Regions from separate parts of the Homo sapiens genome. Here region 1 is linked to region 2. The links are contacts of gene promoters, found by promoter capture Hi-C in human tissues and cell types (Jung and others, 2019). All regions are on one chromosome and are shown on one strand. The core of a region is centred on a gene start or on the middle of the fragment in contact, and the rest is flanking DNA. Distances in the headings are between cores, read along the strand shown. Region 1 overlaps BPIFB3 (BPI fold containing family B member 3). Region 2 holds the start of BPIFB6 (BPI fold containing family B member 6).

Region 1 (3,087 bases), core at 198-2,697, 41 kb after region 2:
AGAGTGGGCAAATATCAGGGCGGGTGTGCGTGAGAGAGAGCAGGGGGTGTGGGCAGTGGGGAGAGAGAGAGAGAAACAGTGATCATCTTAGGAAAGTGAATCTCATGATCTTCCACGGTCTTGGAACCTCACAAAGTTGTGGACATCTAGAACCTCACAAGGGTCCATCATTCTGGAACTTCTCCCAAGTAATAAATTTCCCGAACTCAGCAAGTTCCATTTCAGAGCTCACAGAGCCCCGAGGTTCCTGCTTCTTACAGAGTTCTGAGGTTCTGGAATCTCACCATGGGCTCAGGTTCTAGAACATTCTCAGAGTCCCTAAACTGACAGGAATCTAAGGTCAGACCCCATAGACTGGAGCTGGGCACATTTCCTTCCCTCTTTCTTAGGCACTGCCCACCTCCAGCCCCAACAGAGTCTTATAGGAAGGCACTTCTTCCAAGCTCATGGGGCCTGGGGTAAAGCCAGCCTAAATCACAGAATCTCTTTCGAGGTCACTGGTGGACAGCCCAGGCCACCCCCAAGTGCCCAGTGCCTGCCAGGAGCTGTGTCCTCAGGCTTGGGGGAGGCTGAGGCAGCTGGGCCCCTGGGTTTCTCTCCCTGGGAACGGGATGCTGCTGCCTGTAAAGCCACACCCCAGAGCACCACCCCCACCACCCTGTGTGTTCTGTTGCAGGGATCGCGTTTAGAAGAATGGCTCAGCCATGTGGTCGGGGCAGTGTATGCACCAAAGCTTAACGGTATGGCAGGTTTTGCTCTCTTGGACACATGGAGTGTCTGAATTTGGTATTGTCTAGTCTGTTGCCTCTCTTTATGGTTCTGATGGGGACACTGAGGCCAGAGAGAGAGGTCGATCCTCATTTGCAAGATGCAGAAACTGAGGCACCAATTTTTCCATTTAAATGACATTGATTAGCACCTACATCTTGCCAGCCTATGGACTTCAAGCGCTGATCTGACCTCAGTCCTGCCTTAAGCTCCCACAGTCTAGTAGGAAATAATCATATAAACAAATGATTAGAATATAGATGACCCAGAGTGTGTAAGGGATTGATGAAGCCTTTAGGAGGCTTGACACGGGGGCACCACTGACACAATACAGAATAGGGACATTTTTGTTTGGGTGTAGGAGGATGAGTAGGAGTTTGCCAATAAGAAGCTGATTCTGTGAGAAGAGAACTGGCTGGCTAGTGAAAGTGATGGAATAGGGTCAGCAGGGTCCGAGGGTTCCTAGGGTCCAAGAGCTCCCCACCAATGTACCTTTGTTTTCAACGATTCTCTTTTCACAGTGGCCCTGGATGTTGGAATTCCCCTGCCTAAGGTTCTTAATATCAATTTTTCCAATTCAGTTCTGGAGATCGTAGAGGTGAGCCTTCTCTGCAGATACGGCCCAGGTGGGCCTTAAGCTTGTCTCTGGAAAGCTCTGCTTGAAACTAATGAGGGGAATGCTTTGCTTCATCCTCTTGTCTGTCCCTGATCCATTTTCTAAATTTCTCAGTGAGTTACAAATTGCCTAACTTAGGAATGGCAAATATATGACATGTGTGCTACTACTCCTCCATTTCTTGCCCATGGCAGACATCATCAATCAATCACGGAGTTCTTTCCCATTGGATTCAGAGACATGTCTGGCCTCTAGAATGGAACCTAAGATTCACTCACAGAATCACAGTTCCCCTGGTCCAACAGCAACAAATACATATGCCATCTCTCCCTTATCTTGTGTCTGCAGCAGATATGACCAATGGATCATGACCCTTTTTCTTGTGGAATATTGATATGGCCTCACAATCCTTTTCAAACCAGCCCAACTTTGGGTGGTGGAATAGCTCTAGGAGGTGGGCAGAGCAGAGAGTTCTGTACCCATTTCTCAGATGAGGACCAAGGCTGAAGTAGGTCAGATTTCTGGCCCAAGTTCACCAGTAAATTAATAGCAGAAATGGCAGTTGAACTTGAGTCTATTAAGTCCTCAAGTCAGAGCCTGTCCCACACTGGATGTCATTTTTTCATCATTCATTTATTCATTTAATGAGTGCCTGCTGTGTTCCAGGTACAGGGCCAATCCCAGGGCAGGGGAGTAAAGATGGCTGCAGGGATGGGGCATTGCAGAGACTCAGGGGTGTAACCAAGAGCGGTTGTTCCTTACAGAATGCTGTTGTGCTGACCGTGGCATCCTGAGGCTGAGACATGGCCACCAGCCTTCCCTGTTGACTACTAGAGACCACCTGTCTACTCTGCCTCAATTTCCCTCCCAGTCTCTAGCTGATGTTGGTGACAGTAAAAATGCCCTCTGGCCCTGAAGCACTACTCCAAGTTTGGGGTGGGAACTGCCTGGCTAATCATAGAACTGCCTCAGAGAGAGCTCTGGGGCCTCAGTAGCAAACCCTGAGCTTTCAATAAATGACTCCTGTATCTCGGTATCTCCTGGCTGGTTTATTCCCCAGTCACGTAGGACTTGACTTGGCCTTTGCCTCCAGTGCCCTCCTTAGCTCCAGGTAGGAGCTTCTGGGAGGTGAGGGGACTCAGGGCCTTGTCATTGTAGCTTTGAGTCCCAAACTGACCTTGTTGGCCTGGGCAGCCTCTGTGTCCTGTTCTGCCTTCCTCTCTGTCCCTGCCCCCCTTGCCTCCAGCTCTCTCTCTCTCTCTTTCTCTAAATACTTCTACTTTTCACTCTCTCTCTCTCTGAGTCTGCATTTTTCTCTGTTTCTGACTTTGGGATGCTTATCAGAAGTGACATCTGAGCTGAATTTTGAAGGGAGAATAGGAGCTTTCCAGGAAACAAAGGCACTAGCACCCCAGGAAGCAAGGATGAGTGAGACTTGTTCTTGCCCTGTGGTGTGGGGGGGTCCCTATTGGCTGCACATCAGACATGGACACAGCTCAGAACAGAGCTGTGCCAAACGCTCTTGGTGCAGATGGGGAGACTGAAGCCAGAGCAGGGCTTGGCTGGCCCTGGTCCACACAGCGGCAGAGTTGGGATGAGAGACTAGGGGTCCTGCCTCTAGGTCCTGGGCTTCTCCCCACTGCTTACGATGGGCACCTTTGGTGAAAAATATCCCCAAGTTGGCACTTACAGATGGCCTGAGT
Region 2 (3,234 bases), core at 514-3,013:
CATCACAGGTAGGGTGGATTATTTGCACGGTCAGGTTCAATTTGTGATTTTTGAGGCTCAGGGCAGTCGGGGGTTGAGGAAGGCTTCCTGGTAGATGAGGCAAGTGCTGAAATTAGGACTTGAGGGTTGAGTCAGTGATAGATGGATGGAGGGAAGGCATTCTAAAAGGGAGGGGCAGCTTAGGACAAGCACATTCAGAAACAAAACCCTAGCATTAGCCATTTGTCCCAGAGACACCCGCATGACCACGTTACCTGAAGCCACTTATTATTCTGAAAGGGCAAAAAAAGACCCTGCCCTGAGTGACCCTAACACCTGGCATCAGTTCTGGCCTGGGGACGGGAGACTGGGGTGAGGCTCAGTCACCCCGTCTGTGAGATGGGGCTGGGGCTGGAGGAGACCTTCACCAAGCCCCTCCCAGCTCTGTTGCCTGGCTCAGAATTTCACAGCCCCTTTGGGGATGATTTTTAAAGAGATTTGACATGGGGTGTGCCGGGACATGAGCACACGTCATGGCACGCACCTGTGCATTCACAGTGGTCGAGAAGCGCTACTGTGGATTATTTTAAGCCCAGATATATCTTCCATTTAGTGAATATTGACTATTGGCTTGAACACTTCTCGATACTTAAGCTCCTTTTCATCCCTCAGGTCTCAGCCTAAATGTTTCCTCCATAAGGAGTCCGTCCCTGACCCCTTTATCCCATATCCCACCCTATTGCTTCTCGTTCCCTGCCAGACTTTAGGATTTAGGAGGAGCAGGGCTGTCTCTGCCACCGAGATAAAAGAGACAAGCCCGGTCTGCTTGGCACAGAGAAGACACCCAATAGATGTGAGCCGAATGAATGAATGAGTGAATGAGTGAATGAATGCAGGCATTGGCTTGGACTGGGAAGGCAGGCCCATGGTAAGGGCCCATCTTAGTTTGTGCATTAGGTGAGCCCTCAGTGACTTAGCCCGCTGAGAGCAAGAGAGAGTCTGGTGGGAACCTCCTCTCTCTGGGTGGACATAGGCCCTGCTCCCATGGGCCCTGCCTTCATTCTTTTCAGCCAAAGCTCAAAACTGAAATATACACTTGGCCCTTGGTTGGAAGAGTTTCAGATCTTGGTAAGTAAGAGGGAAGGATTTCTATGGGCCCGGGGTGGGGTAGGGCTTTCCTGGGAACCTGAAAAGGTCTGGGGTGGGAGGTCCTTATGCTAGGAGACCTAATGTCTGTGCCTCAGTTTCTCTATCGGAGAGGCGATGTCTCAAGAGGCCTTTCAGGGCTCAGAGTTGAGCTTTCTGAGTTCCACATGGAAGTGAGCTGAGCTGGAAGAGGTGGGGAGGGACCCTGGCTGTAGGGTCAAGGTGGGGACACAGGGCTCCCCACTCCCACAATGCCGTGTGGGGCTCAAGGAAAGTCTGGAACTCTCTCTGTGGCTCCAGCATTCAGCCGTCCTTGAACCCATGAAAAACTGCAGTTGAACCTTCCTCCAACCCCATCTTGCAGGCTGGTCAGAACACACCATGTCCATGGGGAAACTGAGGCTTACAGAGGGAAATGAGCTAGCTGGGGGTGGCTGGAGGCCCTGTGTTTAATCTGGGGGTTCCTCAATCCCTTGGAAGAGGGCAGTGCTCATGTTTGCTGAACTGGCTGGAGTCTAAAGGCTCTTGGACCCCAGAAACACCCAGGGGGCTCAATCTGCTCTGAGACAGAAGGTCCCCAAGGGGACCAGGGTCTGGTGGGCTGCGCCCAATTCAGGCCCCTTGGCACAGGTGGTGCCATGCTGCGGATCCTGTGCCTGGCACTCTGCAGCCTGCTGACTGGCACGCGAGCTGACCCTGGGGCACTGCTGCGGTTGGGCATGGACATCATGAACCGTGGTGAGCTTGTGGGCCCGGGCGTGCAGCTGGGAGGCGGTGCTTGGGGTAGGTGGTAGGTAGTCACTGCTCTTGGTTGCACATCCTGGAGCATCCCGTGAGCTCCAAGTAAACTTATAAGCAAGTGTTATTATTATTCTCCCACTTTACAGAGGGGAGAAACCAAGGACCAGAGAAAATGGGATGATTTTCCCATGCTCCCCCTGCAAGTTAGAGGCAGAGCTGAAAATCCTGCTCCTTTGGAGTCTCTCCTTGGCCCTGATGGCAGGGGTTTTAGCCACAAGTGGGCTGTGGGAGTGACAGACAAGGGTCAAATCCCAGCAACAACTTGCTGTGTGACCTCAGGCAAGTTACTTGGCCTCCCTGTGTTGCTGTTTGCTCATCTGTAAAGGTGAAATGTAAAGAAATGTAAAATAGGGTGACCAGTCTGTCCCTAGCAGGATAGAATAATCTCTTGGAGGAGACCTTAGTAAAATGTGTTTTCCACCTCCATCCCCCACTCCACTAGCACAAGGGAAACCGAGTCACATCCAGGTACAAAAGGCTAATGACTGTTCTACCAGCTCAGTGTTTGTGCCCTCTCTGGAATTAGCTTGTGACCATAATGGAGGTGTTTCTGGCGGGGTGTTACTTGGGGTTGGGTCCTCCAGGTTTGGGGAATCAGAATTTCTCTGCTTCAGGCCCAAAGTCTGCATTCAAGTCCCCAGAGGAGTCCCCTAATCACCTAGGCTTGGGAGTGGCTGGTCCACAGGATAAAGTCAGTACCCTAGGGTTCAAGAGCTTCACTACATGCCCCCTGCAAACTGCTCCAGTTTCTCTGTCGTGTCTGTCCTCACCCTCCAGCCATGCTGAATCTATCCTCTTCCCCCAACTGTGCCACCTTCTCTCCCACCCACCTTTGCACTTGCTGTGCCCTCTGTCCAGACTGATATCTTTTATCCCTTTGCTTCCTGCTGAAAATTACTATTCCCCTTTCAAGTACCAACTGATCTGTCACCTCCTCCTGGAAGCCTTCCCCAGCTCTTCTCTTCCTACCTAAACCCTCGTGCGGCTCCTACAGCTTGTTACTGTCATTGCTGGTGACTCCATCTTCCCCCATTAGGCTGGGGCGCTGTGGGACTCATCTCTGGGTCTCTGCCATCGTCCAGCCCAGGGTGGGGCACAGTGACGGTGAGTGGCCTGGGATACCTGAGTGATTGGCCCAGGGAAAATCTCTCCAACTAAGTGTCTCCACTCCAGAGGTCCAGAGCGCCATGGATGAGAGTCATATCCTGGAGAAGATGGCAGCCGAGGCAGGCAAGAAACAGCCAGGGATGAAACCTATCAAGGGCATCACCAAGTGAGTAGGGGAGGGGAGCTGGAGGGTGGTGGTTA

Evidence for each region. Contacts are between HindIII fragments. The study calls those that stand out against the background at their distance.
Region 1: a contact is called between a fragment that was not itself captured here and the fragment with the promoter of BPIFB6 in region 2, in 1 of the 25 tissues and cell types used here (spleen).

Annotation. Positions count from the first base shown.
Region 1 is chr20:33,071,428-33,074,514 of GRCh38, forward strand. BPIFB3 (BPI fold containing family B member 3) reads left to right here. Exons shown (of 16, transcript NM_001376932.3): 14 at 677-740; 15 at 1,290-1,366; 16 at 2,149-2,420. The coding sequence ends at 2,178. Among named protein-coding and RNA genes, the nearest start is that of BPIFB4, 6.7 kb to the right of the region's middle. The HindIII fragment of the contact is 5,429 bases long and covers 1-3,087 here.
Region 2 is chr20:33,029,885-33,033,118 of GRCh38, forward strand. It overlaps BPIFB6 (BPI fold containing family B member 6), which reads left to right and starts at 1,764. Exons shown (of 15, transcript NM_174897.2): 1 at 1,764-1,860; 2 at 3,100-3,199. The coding sequence starts at 1,764. The HindIII fragment of the contact is 18,408 bases long and covers 1-3,234 here.